Linked DNA regions of Homo sapiens: all the other regions are linked to region 2. The links are contacts of gene promoters, found by promoter capture Hi-C in blood cells and fetal thymus (Javierre and others, 2016). All regions are on one chromosome and are shown on one strand. Each heading gives the region's core, a stretch centred on a gene start or on the middle of the fragment in contact. The rest is flanking DNA. Distances are from core to core; before and after follow the strand shown.

Evidence for each region. The method cuts DNA at HindIII sites, captures the fragments that hold promoters and counts their contacts. A CHiCAGO score of 5 or more calls a contact.
Region 1: a contact is called between a fragment that was not itself captured here and the fragment with the promoter of LAMA3 in region 2, in 1 of 17 cell types (naive CD4 T cells). The highest score is 6.6, in naive CD4 T cells.
Region 3: a contact is called between a fragment that was not itself captured here and the fragment with the promoter of LAMA3 in region 2, in 2 of 17 cell types (activated CD4 T cells and total CD4 T cells). The highest score is 5.4, in activated CD4 T cells.
Region 4: a fragment that was not itself captured here is called in contact with the fragment with the promoter of LAMA3 in region 2 in 1 of 17 cell types (naive CD8 T cells); the score reaches 5.3 in naive CD8 T cells.

Annotation. Positions count from the first base shown.
Region 1 is chr18:24,113,781-24,117,059 of GRCh38, reverse strand. TTC39C (tetratricopeptide repeat domain 39C) reads right to left here. Exons shown (of 14, transcript NM_001135993.2): 7 at 2,413-2,506. Among named protein-coding and RNA genes, the nearest start is that of CABYR, 24 kb to the left of the region's middle. The HindIII fragment of the contact is 413 bases long and covers 1,078-1,490 here.
Region 2 is chr18:23,687,921-23,691,486 of GRCh38, reverse strand. It overlaps LAMA3 (laminin subunit alpha 3), which reads right to left and starts at 2,034. Exons shown (of 75, transcript NM_198129.4): 1 at 1,510-2,034. The coding sequence starts at 1,803. RefSeq lists an enhancer at 2,126-2,675. The HindIII fragment of the contact is 9,125 bases long and covers 1-3,566 here.
Region 3 is chr18:24,149,154-24,152,473 of GRCh38, reverse strand. All of the region lies in intron 3 of CABYR (calcium binding tyrosine phosphorylation regulated), which reads right to left. Among named protein-coding and RNA genes, the nearest start is that of CABYR, 12 kb to the right of the region's middle. The HindIII fragment of the contact is 1,147 bases long and covers 932-2,078 here.
Region 4 is chr18:24,090,643-24,094,134 of GRCh38, reverse strand. All of the region lies in intron 6 of TTC39C (tetratricopeptide repeat domain 39C), which reads right to left. Among named protein-coding and RNA genes, the nearest start is that of CABYR, 47 kb to the left of the region's middle. The HindIII fragment of the contact is 5,261 bases long and covers 1-3,492 here.

The DNA.
Region 1 (3,279 bases), core at 35-2,534, 430 kb before region 2:
GATCGCTTGAGCCCAAGAGATCCAGACCAGCTTAGGCAACACGGTGAAACCCCATCTCTATAAAAAATTAGCCAGGTGTGGTGGTGCACGCCTGTAATTCCAGCTACTTGGGAGACTGGGGTGGGAGGATCACCTGAGCCGGGGAGGTCTGGGCTGCAGTGAGCTGAGACTGCACCACTGCACTCCAGCCTGGATGACACAGTGAGACCCTGTCTTAAAAAAAAAAAAAAAAAAAAAAAACTAAGGTATCAAGAGGTAGCTACCTGCTGAAGCCATACAACTAAGAAGGAATAACTGTGGATCAAAATCCAACACACTTTCCTTTACATGATACTGCCTCCATAAAAAATATTCTGTTATCAGGTGCATCACTAAGTAATTGTGTAAACTGAGACTTGCCATTTAAACCGTGGGAGGAAGAGTGTGTGAGATATACACTTCAGAAAATTCACTGTCAAATTCTATGGGATGTGATATTGACATAGTTTAGAGTAAAAATTTGGGCTTTTTTTGGAAACACACTCTCACTCTGTCACCCAGGCTGGAGTGCAGTGGTGGGATCTCAGGTCACTGCAACCTCTGCCTCCTGAGTTCAAGCCACTCTCCCGCCCGCCTCAGCCTGCTGAGTAGCTGAGATTATAGGCGCCCACTACCACGCCTGGCTAATTTTTGTATTTTTGGTAAAGACGGGGTTTCACCATGCTGACCTGGCTGGTCTCGAAGTCCTGGCTTTAGGCGATCTGCCCCTCTCAGCCTCCCAAAGGACTAGGATTACAGGCGTGGGCCACCGTGCCCGGCCTGGGCTGATTATTTTTATCCTAGCATAGATAGCGGAGAAAGATTGGAATTAAATACAAAATAGAGATGGAAGGAAGCACTGACTCAGGAATAAGTCAGGAATAATTCAGGAATAAATAAGGAATAACTCAGAAATAAGTCAGGAATAACTCAGGAATAAGTCAGGAATAACTCAGGAAAAAGTACCAACTCAAGCTTCCGAGCCTGAATCGGAAGCCCGAGTTACTACCAACTCCTGAGTTAACCTTCCTAAGGCCTGGGTTGGGTGATTTCTAAGCTTCCTTCTGCTCTAACATCCTATCCTGTCATAGGACTTGAAATGATGCACCAACAAAAGGCCACCAAAGCTAGAGTTTTTCATTCAAGTTCTTTGAAGCACATTTCATTCTATATTGTGGCTACTAAGCAGAGCTCCAGCAGAGTGTAGAAGACACAAAAACACATTTTCCACTGGATTATACATCATTTCCTCTTTTTAAACCACAACAGGCATTTAAAACGTAATATTGTTTATTGGGCAGTTCGCAATCTTTTGGTTTTCAGTTTTCCTTAAAAGGATTCAGGAAGACAATTGTGTCCACAGCAGGCAAAGCAAGTGGCAGGCAGCACAGGGCCTGACCCCCCAAACTGACAGGTGTCAACTGCTTCCCTGAGCATTCTGTCTCCACTTCCCTGTCCCTCTGCAGAAAGCTTTTTAAGTCTCAATTTCCCTTTGGAGTCTCATCACTATCTCATCATTTCTCCTTTCTCTTTGCCTCTGTCATTCCTTTTTATGTGCTACATGGTGTGACCTTGTAGCATTAGCTACGCTGAAACTCTGAAAAGTCTGAGTCCCTTATTTAAAATTTTTTTTTGTTTCAAGTTCAAAGTTGTGTTTACTCTTCCCAGCACAATGGAGAAACTGTTACACAGAAAGATTTTGCAATTACTAATGTAATAGGATCAGAGTTTTAGTGCAGTCAGCAAAGACCCATAGCAACAATTCTGGAGGAGAATGGGGAAAATCTCGGGCAGATAAATCCTTCCAGGTTTGTTGGTGACTGTCTCTCCAGTAAGGGAGAAGCAGAAGGTGGCAGCTAACATGTATGGAGGGCCTTCCGTGCCAGGCCCCCTGCATGAGGTTTCACACGTCATGTCATCTAAACCTCACAGCTGCTACAAGGGGAGGCACCTTAACTCCAATGGCAACTATGTGGCTAGGAAGGTTTGGGCAACTTGTCCAAGGTCTCAGAGCTAGTTGGTGAAAAACACTGGGACTTCAGTCCAACTATCTCCTGTCTCCTATTTTTCTTCTCAAGTAAACATTAGTGGGAAGGAGGAACAAAGAGCTTTGAATTCTAATGCAGTCCAATAAGGTATTTCTGGTCATTTAATCAATTCATTTAACATCACCTATTATCCTAAAAAATCAAAATGCTGTAAAGAAAAAATGTTATAAAAACGTAATGAGAATCAGAGAGAAGTATCATTGCATGTGCTACGGGAATAACTGAAGTCCTTCTTACTACAGAAGGCACCAAGCATTTTGTAGACACACACTGAATGGCATGAAAGCTAAAATACTGCATTAATACTACTTCTTAACAAGAGGCTGGACAGACATTTCATATTTACCAATTTCATACAGACAGACATGTTGAATTTCTCTCTGGTCTACTGCAAGTTCCAAAGCAGTGTGGAAAGATGTCAAGGCACTGTTGATTTGACACTAAGGAGAAAAGGAAAACAGAATTACCAGCTAAGATCTGTCGATAACATTACAATCATCATAATTCAAAAGCATCTTTTTCCTTCATAGTTATTTTAAACAGGTTAAGCAATATAGAAGACAGTGGTTTAAAGATTGCTAGGAAAATACTCCAATTTGCCCCCAAACAGCTGTGAAATTAACCTAAGCACAGAGAACCTCTCCTTGCTCAGGTGGTAAGGGCTCAGCTCGCGCCGCCTTCTCCTCCAGCGTTCTCTCCTTTGCTCAGGTGTTAAGGGCTCAGCTCACACCCACCTTCTCCTTCACTCAGGTGGTAAGGGCTCAGCTCGCGCCGCCTTCTCCTCCAGCGTTCTCTCACACTTGTACAGTAGGACGTGTTGGATTTTAATTGTTTGCTAATCTAGCCCCTTGTTACCACACAGGTGTGGAAAGGGAAGGGACCATATTTCATCCCCGTGTGCGCCCAGCCCTGGCCCAGAAGTCTCTCAATCGCTACTGAGTGAATGCACGAAGCCGCTCCATTAGCCCAGTTCTCAGTGAGCTCTTCACCATACAGTTGATAGTTTGCTTCTATACCCTAGAATGCTGTTCTCCAATTGCTTCTGCTCATCAAATCTCCTCTCCCGACACTTCAGAAATTCCCTGAGGATCCAGATTACATTTCCAACACTTTCATTCACATAACACTGTCTGGGACCCAGCAAACTCTCAAATGTCCGCTCTACTTACTCCCAGTGAAATACATTTCGTTTTCCCGCCGCTGAAGATGTCAC
Region 2 (3,566 bases), core at 785-3,284:
ACACACAATCATAAAATAGAGAAAGCAAAATTATTTGAGGACTGTTAAAAGTATTTTCATCATTGTTATTTTATATTTTTAGTTTCTTTTCTTGCATGTTTTATAATATAGATAATATATAAATATGGTAAAAATATTTTCATCATTGTTATTTTGTCTTTTAGATTTCTGTTTTTGCATGTTTTAAAATATGCACAACACATATCAATATAATACATGCATGTAGTTTATAAGTAAATAAGCACATATGGCACTAGATGTTCAACAACTTGTCATTTATGGAAGTGCATGGTCAAAAGAGTTTCTAAAACACTAATCTAGACACCCAATGATAACCTTGCTCTTTTAGAACCCAAGCTCCAAAATCGCTCCCTCTTCCCACTTCCTGTTCCTCAACAATACTTTGCAGAAGAAGGAGGCAATTTGGGCTTAGTGTCCAGGATTTGAAGTCAGGACTGGATTCAAATTCTCCTGCCCCTTTGGGAGGTCAAGACAGAAGGACAGCTTGAGGCTAAGAGTTTGAGACCAGCTTGGGCAAAATAGCCAGACTCTGTCTCTACAGAAAAATAAATAAATAAATAAATAAATAAATAAATAAATAAATAAATAAATAATTGCCAGGCCTGAGGTTGCAGTGAGCCGAGATCGCACCATTGCATTTCAGCCCCGGCGACAGTGCGAGACTCTGTCTCAAAAAAAAAAAAAAAAAATTGCCAGGCACGGGGGGGCACGCCTGTAGTCCCAGCTACGCCCAAGGCTGAGGCGGGAGGATCCCTTGAGCCCAGGAGTTCGAGGCTGCCGTGAGCCGTGATCGCACCACTGCACTCTTGCCTGGCTGAGACCTGTGAGTAAGGGCCAGGCACTGCAAGATGCTGCTTAACATGCACCGCAATGTCGTTTGCCCCGGGTGTTCGCGGTGAGGCTCGGATCTCTGAGAGCCTTTCTATCTCTGTCCGCCTAAGGTCTCATTCGCCCCCAATGACTGGATGGTGGCACTTCAGGCAGTGCAGTGAAGTGAATCTTTTCAGTAACATTAGAGTGATACCGCTGTTATAACCTAAAAATTCTCTCTTAAAATACACCACAGAAGGTAATTGCCACCGACTTCTCCGAATAAGGCCCGGGAGGTGGGGCAGGAGGCGCCCCTGAACCCTCGAGGACTCAAGCCTGGCGGGACGCTCCGTGGGTGACGGAGGCGGGAAGGGCCGAGGCGCCTGCATCTCTTAGAGCGCAGCCTCACACTTTCCCCTCCACCAGCCCGAACCTGACCACAGCCTCATGTCACCTCGCGTGCTCCCCCTCCTCGCCTCGGGCCGGTGGTGCCGGTGCGGTGCTTCCACGAGATCGCTCCTGGGTCGTGGGCCCTCGCGCGCGGGGATGGGGGCTGCCCTTCCCAGTCGCCCGGAGCCACTAGCGCGCGTGAGGAAAGGGCCCGATCCCTTCTCCGGGTGTCTGGCCGGCGCGGGAAGGAAAAGGCGCGCCCACCCCGGCTCTCTCCGAGGCCCTCACCTGGATGGTGTGGCCGCTGCCTGGGGCGGTGGGGCCCCCGACCAACTTGCAGTAGAGCTCGGGCTGGGGCCTCCCCTCGCCGGGTCCCCTCTCCCCGCAGGTGGCGGTGGCCCAAATCCTCGCCGCCTCGGCCAGGTTGAAGTAAGTCGGGTGAAGGCTGAGCCCGGCCGCGGCCCCGGGATCCCGAGCGGTCGCCCCGCAGGCTGGCAGCACCCGCAGTACCAGCAGGAGCAGCGGCGTCGGCGGCAGTACTGGCCCCAGTGCCCGACCCCGAGGCCGCGCGGCCGCCGCCATCCAGCCGCGCGGGGTCCTCCCGCCTGAGCCGTCCGCAGAGGGGCTCGGGGGCACCGCCGCTCTCCGCCTGCGCCTCCCGGACCTGCAGCGCCAGGACTAGCGCAGCCGGGGATATGGGCGGCGCCGGGGCCGCTCCCCTTGCTCCACGCGCTGGAAGCCCGCGGCGTGGGGGTGGCCTCTCAGCTCTGGAACCTGCCGCGGCTGGAGCGGGCACCAGCCGGATCAGGAACTGACAGCGCTCAGCCGCGCGCCAGCAGACGGCGTCTCTCCCGCGCGAGGCGCGCTGCAAACTTCGCGGGCGGGGAATGGGAGAGGCGTTCCCGGGCTCCCACCCAGGCGGCGGGAACGGGAGCCTGGGATCTTCGAACCCTCCAGGCGCCAGGACAGAAATTAATTAGATCGTTCTCCTCTCTGGATACTCACCGCTCAGGTCAAAGCCAGAAAAGCCACCTGTGACCTAAGAGTAAAGGAGGCTTGTAAACGAATTTGGTTGAGAGCAGAGGAAACTGCCACTACCTACAGAACTCACATCAAAGACATTTCGATTTCCCAGCCAAGTGTTGAGTCGTCAACTCCTCAACACTGTGCACCTAGGATCCCTGTGGCACTGCAGCCACAGGCTGAGCCAGGGAACTGGGAGTGGTGGAACGTACATATTTAAAAGACAGCCAATAATGCAAGTTGTAATTTGCCAACCTGGAAAGGAACCTTAGAGGAAATCCTTTAGATGCCTAATCTGCTCAATTTTACAAATAAGCTAACAGAGATTGAGTGAGGTACGCCACCTGCCATGATGGCCTCAGAACAGAGAAGACCCCCTCCCCCCACGACCCCGGACTGATGCTTGGTCTTATATGCAGAACACCCTACTAAAACAGAACCCACATAGGCCCTCGAAGAAATTAGAGGAATGCAATATTTGTACAATAAAAATTGCAAAACCTCTTTGAAAGAAATGTTAAAAGACCTAAATGAGTGGAAAAGCCTCCCATGTTCATGGATTAGGAGACAATATTGTGAAGATGGCAATATTTCCTAAAGCAACCTACAATTCAACACAATGGATTTTGATAGGGATCAAAATCCCGACTTTTTTTTTTTTCAGAAATTGACAAGCTGATCCTAAAATTCATGTGGAAATGCAAGAGACCTAGAAAATCCAAAACGATTCTGAGAAAGAATGAAGTCAGTGGACTCACGCTTCCTAGTTTTAAAACTTAATACAAAACTACAGTAATCAAGACAGTGTAGTACCGACATAACGATAAACATAGATCAATGGAATAGAATTGAGAGCTCAGAAATAAACCGTTACATTTATGGTCACTGGATTTTCAACAGGGTGCCAAGACTATTCAATGGGAAAAGAATAATATTTTTAATAAACGCTGCTGGGAAAACTGGACATCCCAAAATAATCTAGTAGGATCCCCACCTCATACTATATGCAAAAATTAACTCAAAATGGATTTAAGATCTCTAAATTTTACATTTAGAGAGCTAAACTATAAAGCTAAAACTATAAAATTCTAAGGGAAAAACACAGGAGAAAATCTTCATGACTTTGGATTAGCAATGCTGTCTTAGCTATGATATCAAAAGCGCAAGCAACAAAAGAAAAATATAAATTGGGCCGGGCACGGTGGCTCATGCCTGTAATCCTAGTACTTTGGGAGGCCGAGGTGGGTGGATCACCTGAGGTCAGGAGTTCAAGACTAGCCTGGGGAAAATGGTGAAACCCTGTATCTACTAAAAATACAAAA
Region 3 (3,320 bases), core at 256-2,755, 460 kb before region 2:
CTTCCCTGCAACTTTCTCATAGTAAAAAAGTTAATGAGAAAACCTAGGTTCTAGTCCTGGTTCTGAGATTTAATAGCTGCATGACCAAGTCAACTGTTCCAAGCTTCAGGCCTCCTCACTTGCAAAATGGGGATTATAACTCTGACTTCATGGAGTTTCTGTGGACACTAAGTGAAATAATGCATCTGAAAGCACTGAATAAACTCTAAATCACATATAAATGGGGAAGGAGTGAATCAGTACCCATTTAAAAAGTGATACAGAAAAGTTTTGAAAATGTGATATCAAATTAAAAATATAAATCTCAAATATCTTTAATTCAGCTTTGATTAAAATTAAATTGGCTATTTCCTAAACTGGGTGGTAAAATACAGGATGTTTTTTCTTTATATGTGTGTGTTATATACTTATGGACTTTTTCATAATTAAAAACTGAGACCAGATGCCTTAAACTTTTATAGTGTTTTTGCAAATGCAAACACTAGGTCAGGCACGATGGCTCATGCGTATAATCCCAGCACTTTGGGAGGCTGAGGCAGGCAGATCACTTGAGGCCAGGAGTTCGAGACCAGCCCAGCCAACATAGTGAAATTCTGTCTCTACTAAAAATACAAAAATAAGCCAGACACAGTGGCACATGCCTGTAATCCCAGGTACTCAGGAAGCTGAGGCAGGAGAATTGCTTGAGCCCGGGAGGTAGAGGTTGCAGTGAGCTGAGATTGTGCCACTGCACTCCAGCTTGGGCAACAAAGCTAGACTCTGTCTTTAAAAAAAAAAAAAAAAAAAGCCAACACTAGATCAACCATTTGGCTTTGTTTGGAATACATGAAAGAATGCTGGCAAATATATACTTACTAGTTACTATACACATATAATGTAAATCTATATTGAGTTCATGTCATTATCTGTTTATTAAGAAGGGTAAAAAGCTTTTCTCTAATGTTTTAAGGTTAGCTTTAAATACTTACAACAGTCGCTGACTTGTAACCTTGAGATTATGTCGGTTGTATAAGACAGAATTTCTTCAAGTTGCAAACTAGGTTTGCTAAAGGTTGATCTTTCAACCTTATGAAGATTAACCCACTATGACTTTGGTGATCTGGTTCTACTTAAGCTGACAAAACTATACACACTGAGAATTAGGAACATAACTAAAGGCATTCCTTCTTGTAAAAAAGTTCCTTTTTAAGTATAATAAAATGACTCAAATTGGCTAACTTTAAAATTCATTGCAGAATCCTGATTTTCCATGAAACCAGTAAGATAAAGAGATAAATTCCAAGCATATGGTATTTTTTTAAATAGGCACAACTCATGGAGATTCAGGGTACTGAAGTACATAACTGCCCAAGAAGCATAAGGAAAAGGACATATTCTGGCATGGAATGGGAAATCTGAAAGGTATCAAAGACCACAAGTGTATAAGCAGCAGGGCCTAACAAGAGATACGAGAGGCTGTATAAGAATTGGAGGTGGGCCATCCTGGCTAACACGGTGAAACCCTGTCTCTACTAAAAATACAAAAAATTAGCCGGGCGTGGTGGCGGGCGCCTGTAGTCCCAGCTATTCGGGAGGCTGAGGCAGGAGAATGGCGTGAACCCGGGAGGCGGAGCTTGCAGTGAGCTGAGATCTCACTACTGCACTCCAGCCTGGGGCCAGAGTGAGACTCCGTCTCAAAAAAAAAAAAAAACAAAAAACAAAAAAACAAAAAAACTGGAGGTGGGAGGTGGGAAGCTCAAAGAGAGTGCTTAAAGTCAGGAATATGTATGGTACGTAATCTTTTAAGAATTTAAAACAAAAGATTCCAACTAGTCTGTATTGAACTGATTGGAATGAGAATACCAGAGACTATAAAGTAGGTGGTTTAGTTTCTCCCCTCTTCCTCCTTGCCCTTCCATCCATTCTTTCTTCATTCAACAAACATTAGTTGCACCATCTATCAAAGAGGAATAAGACTTCCTAAAGATCTCATTCTGATTAAGGATACAGGCAGATGATTGATTATATGACAATGTAGTCAGCACAGTGACTGAAATATGTATGGGGTACAGTGGCTTTTAGGTAATTTTGGTTAAGCTTTAGAAATAAGGAAAACGTGTGAAAGTGGCTAGTAATTTGGACTGTAGGAGGTGGAAAGCAAAAGAGGGCATGGCCAGTTTGAGGGAGAACAGCCATTCAGCCTATCCTAGGTAATCTCTCCCACGCCATGCCCCTTTGCCTTGCTTCTCCTCTTGGTTCTCCAGCACTGCCATCAAACTTCTCTGGGCCACAGTGAGCAACACCAAATGCAGTTTGGCATCTCTTTGGCTTTGTCCTTCCCTCTTCTCTTCCGGGTCTATTTCTGTCTCCCTCACCCCATTGAGAAGTGACAGCGTGCTGCAGTCCTCAGAGCCCTTGCTCGCTCTTGGCGCCTCCTCTGCCTGGGCTCCCACTTTGGCGGCACTTGAGCCCTTCAGCCCACCGCTGCACTGTGGGAGCCCCTTTCTGGGCTGGCCAAGGCCAGAGCCGGCTCCCTCAGCTTGCAGGCAGGTGTGGAGGGAGAGGCGCCAGCGGGAACCGGGGCTGCGCGCCGCGCTTGCGGGCCAGCTGGAGTTCCGAGTGGGCATGGGCTTGGCGGGCCCCGCATTCCGAGCAGCGGGCCGGCCCTGCCAGCCCCGGGCAATGAGGGGCTTAGCACCCAGGCCAGTGGCTGCATAGGGTGTACTGGGTCCCCCAGCAGTGCCAGCCCACCGGCGCTGTGCTTGATTTCTCGCCGGGCCTTAGCTGCCTTCCTGCGGGGCAGGGCTCGGGACCTGCAGCCCGCCATGCCTGAGCCTCCCACCCACTCCGTGGACTCCTGTGCGGCCCGAGCCTCCCCGATGAGCACCGCCCCCTGCTCCACAGCACCCAGTCCCATCGACCACCCAAGGGCTGAGGAGTGCAGGCGCACGGCACCAGGACTGGCAGGCAGCTCCACCTGCAGTCCCCAGTGCAGGATCCACTGGGTGAAGCCAGCTGGACTCCTGAGTCTGGTGGGGACGTGGAGAACCTTTATGTCTAGCCCAGGGATTGTAAGTACACCAATCGGCACTCTCTATCTAGCTCAAGGTTTGTAAACACCAATCAGCACCCTGTGTCTAGCTCAGGGTCTGTGAATGCACCAATCAACACTCTGTATCTAGATACTCTGGTGGGGCCGTAGAGAACCTTTATGTCTAGCTCAGGGATTGTAAATACACCAATCGGCACTCTGTATCTAGCTCAAGGTTTGTAAACGCACCAATCAGCACCCTGTGTCTAGCTCAGGGTTTGTGAATGCACCAATCGACACTCTGTATCTA
Region 4 (3,492 bases), core at 575-3,074, 400 kb before region 2:
CTGCTGAAATGACAACAAAAGACTTAAAATAACACATAGACTTAGTTGATAAGGCAGTGGTAAGGTTTGAGAGAATTGACTTAATTTTGAAAGAAGTCCTACTGTAGGTAAAATGCTATCAAACAGCATCACATTCTACAGAGAAATCATTCGTGAAAGGAAGAGTCAATCGGCGGGGTAAACTTCACTGTTGCCTTACTTCAAGAAATTGCCACAGCCACCCCCACCTTCAGCAACCACCATCCTGATCAGCCAGTAGCCATCGACATCTAGGCAACACCCTCCACCAGCCAAAAGATTACGACTTGCTGAAGGCTCAGATGATTGATAGTTTTAGCAATAAAGTTTTTTAATTAAGGTATACACATTGTATTTTTAGACATAATGCTACTGCACACTTAACAGACTACAGTGCAATGTAAACTTAACTTTTATATGCACTGGGAAACCAAAAAATTCATGTGACTCACTATATTGTGATATTTGCTTTAGTGCAGTGGTCTAGAACCAAACCCGCAATGTCTCTGATGTATGCCTGTATATCTTAGTTGAAAGTCATCAAACTTGGTTTAATCAGTAGCTTATATCCGAAGAAAAAGAGATTGTATAAAATCATACAGAAAATGCACACTCTCAATACTTTTTTTTTTTTTTTTGAGACAGAGTCTCACTCTGTCACCCAGGCTGGAGTGCAGTGGCACGATCTAGGCTCACTGCAACCTCTGCCTCCTGGGTTCACGCCATTCTCCTGCCTCAGCCTCCCAAGTAGCTGGGACTACAGGCGCCCGCCACCACGCCCAGCTAGTTTTTTGTATTTGTAGTAGAGACGGGGTTTCACCATGTTAGCCAGGATGGTCTCGATCTCCTGACCTCGTGATCTGCCCGCCTCGGCCTCCCAAAGTGCTGGGATTATAGGCGTGAGCCACTGCACCCGGCCAATACTTTTATAAAACATCTTTATTGAGATAAAATTCAAAAATCACAAAATTCACCCACTTAAAGTGTACAATTTAATAAGTCTTTAGAATACTCATAGAGTAATATTATAGCTATGCAACTACTACTACAATCTAAGTTTAAAATATACATATTTTTGAAACAGGGTCTCGTGCCTTCACGGCTCACTACAGGCTCAACATCCTGGGCTCAGATGATCCTCCCACCTCAGCCTTCCAAAGAGCTGGGACTACAGCTGTGCGCCCAGCTAATTTTTTGTAGAAATGGGGTTTCGCCACATTGCCAGGCTTGTATCAAACTTCTGGGCTCAACTGGTCCACTCACCTCAGCTTCCCAAAGTGCTGAGATTACAGGTGTGAGCCATTGTGCTCTGCCTGAAATATTTTCATTCCCCCAAAGAAACTATGTACCATGTATCCATTAGCAGTCACTCCACACTGTTCCCTCACCTACCTCCACACTGAAGCAAGCAATAATCTATTTTCTGCCTCTGTAGATGTACCCGTCCTAAAGATGTCATATAAATGGAATCATATAGTATATGGTCTTTGTGACTGACTTTTTACACATAACATGTTTTCAAGGTTCCTCCATGCTATAGTATGTATCTGTACTTCATTCCTTTCTATTGCTGAATAATATTCCATTGTATGAATGTATCACATGTTGTTTATCCATTCATCAGTTGATAGACATCTGAGCTGTTGCCACTTTTTGGCTATTATGGATAATAATATGGAGTGGTGTTTTTATTTCTCTTGTGCATATTCCTAGGAGTGAAATTGCTGTTTCATATAGTTTGACATTTTGAGGAACTGTTGAACTGGGTCCAGAGCAGCCACACCATTTCACATTCTCACTGGCAATGAATGAGGGTTCCAATCACTCTGCATCCTGCCCACACTTGCTATTGGCTGTCTTGCCTACTGTAGTTAGCTTGGTGGGTGTGAAACAGTAGCTTACTTGGTTTTGATTTGTTTCCTTAGTGATTTATGATACTGCCTATCTTCCTTGGAGAAATGTTTCTTCAGATCCGTTGTCTATTATTATTATTTTTTTTTTTTTTTTTTTTTTTTTTTTTTTTTGAGACTGAGTCTCACTCTGTCACCCAGGCTGGAGTGCAGTGATGCGATCTTGGTTCACTGCAAGCTCCGCCTTCAAGGTTCACACCATTCTCCTGCCTCAGCCTCCCGAGTAGCTGGGACTACAGGCGCCCGCTACCACACCTGGCTAATTTTTTGCATTTTTTTTTAGTAGAGACAGGGTTTCATCATGTTAGCCAGGATGGTCTCGATCTCCTGACCTCGTGATCTGTCCGCCTTGGCTTCCCAAAGTGCTGGGATTACAGGCGTGAGCCACCGCGCCTGCCCCCATTGTCCATTTTTAAATTGGCTTGTCTTTTTATTATTGAGTTGTAACAGTTCTTTACATATTCAGAATACAAGTCCCGTATCAGATATATAACTTGCAAATATTTTCTCCCATTCTATGGGTTGTCTTTTCACTTTCTTGATTGTATTGTTTATAGCGCAAATGTTTCATTTTGATGTAGTTCAATTTATTTATTCTTTTGTCATTGTGCTTTTAGTGTCATGTCTAGGAAACCAAGGCCTAACCCAAGGGTTCTACAGTTTTAGATCTTACATTTAGGTCTATGATCCGCTTTGAGTTAATTTTCTTGTATAGTATAAGGGTCCAACTTCATTCTTTTGCATCTGTGAATACTCAGTTGTCCCAGCACATGGTCTGGCTTTGTCACCCAGGCTGGAGTGCAGTGGCATGATCTCTGATTACTGCAACCTCCATCCCCCGGGCTCAAGCCATCCTACCACCTCAGCCTCCTGAATAGCTGGGCCTACAGATGTGCACTACCACACCTGGCTAATTTTTGTAGAGATGGGGTTTCAACACAGCCCATGATGGTCTCAAACTTGTGAGCTCAAGCAATCTGCCTGCCCTGGCCTCCCAGAGTGCTGGGATTATAGGCATTGAGCTACTGTGCCTGGCTGAAAAGACTATTCTTTGCCCACTGACGTGTCTTGATGTCCATGTCAAAGCAAATTGATCATAAGGCCGGGCGTGGCGGCTTACGCCTGTAATCCCAGCACTTCGGGAGGCCGAGGCGGACAGAGAACCTGAGGTCAGGAGTTCGAAAACAGCCTGGCCAACGTGGTGAAACCCCATCTCCGCTAAAAATACAAAAATTAGCCAGGCATGGTGGCGCACACCTGTAGTCTCAGCTACTTGGTAGGCTGAGGCATGAGAATCGCTTGAACCTGGGAGGTGGAGGTTGCAGTGAGCTGAGATCATGCCACTGCACTCCAGCCTGGGTGACAGAGCAAGACTCTGTCTCCAAAAAAAAAAAAAAAAAAAAAAAAAAGTAAATTAATCATAAATGTAAGATTTATTTCACAATTCTCACTGATCCATATGTCTATTCTTATGCTCGTACCACACTGTCTTGATTACTTTGTAGTAAGTTTTGAGAGTAGGAAGTGGAGTTTTCTTTTTCCACTTTCCATTTTTTCCTTCTTT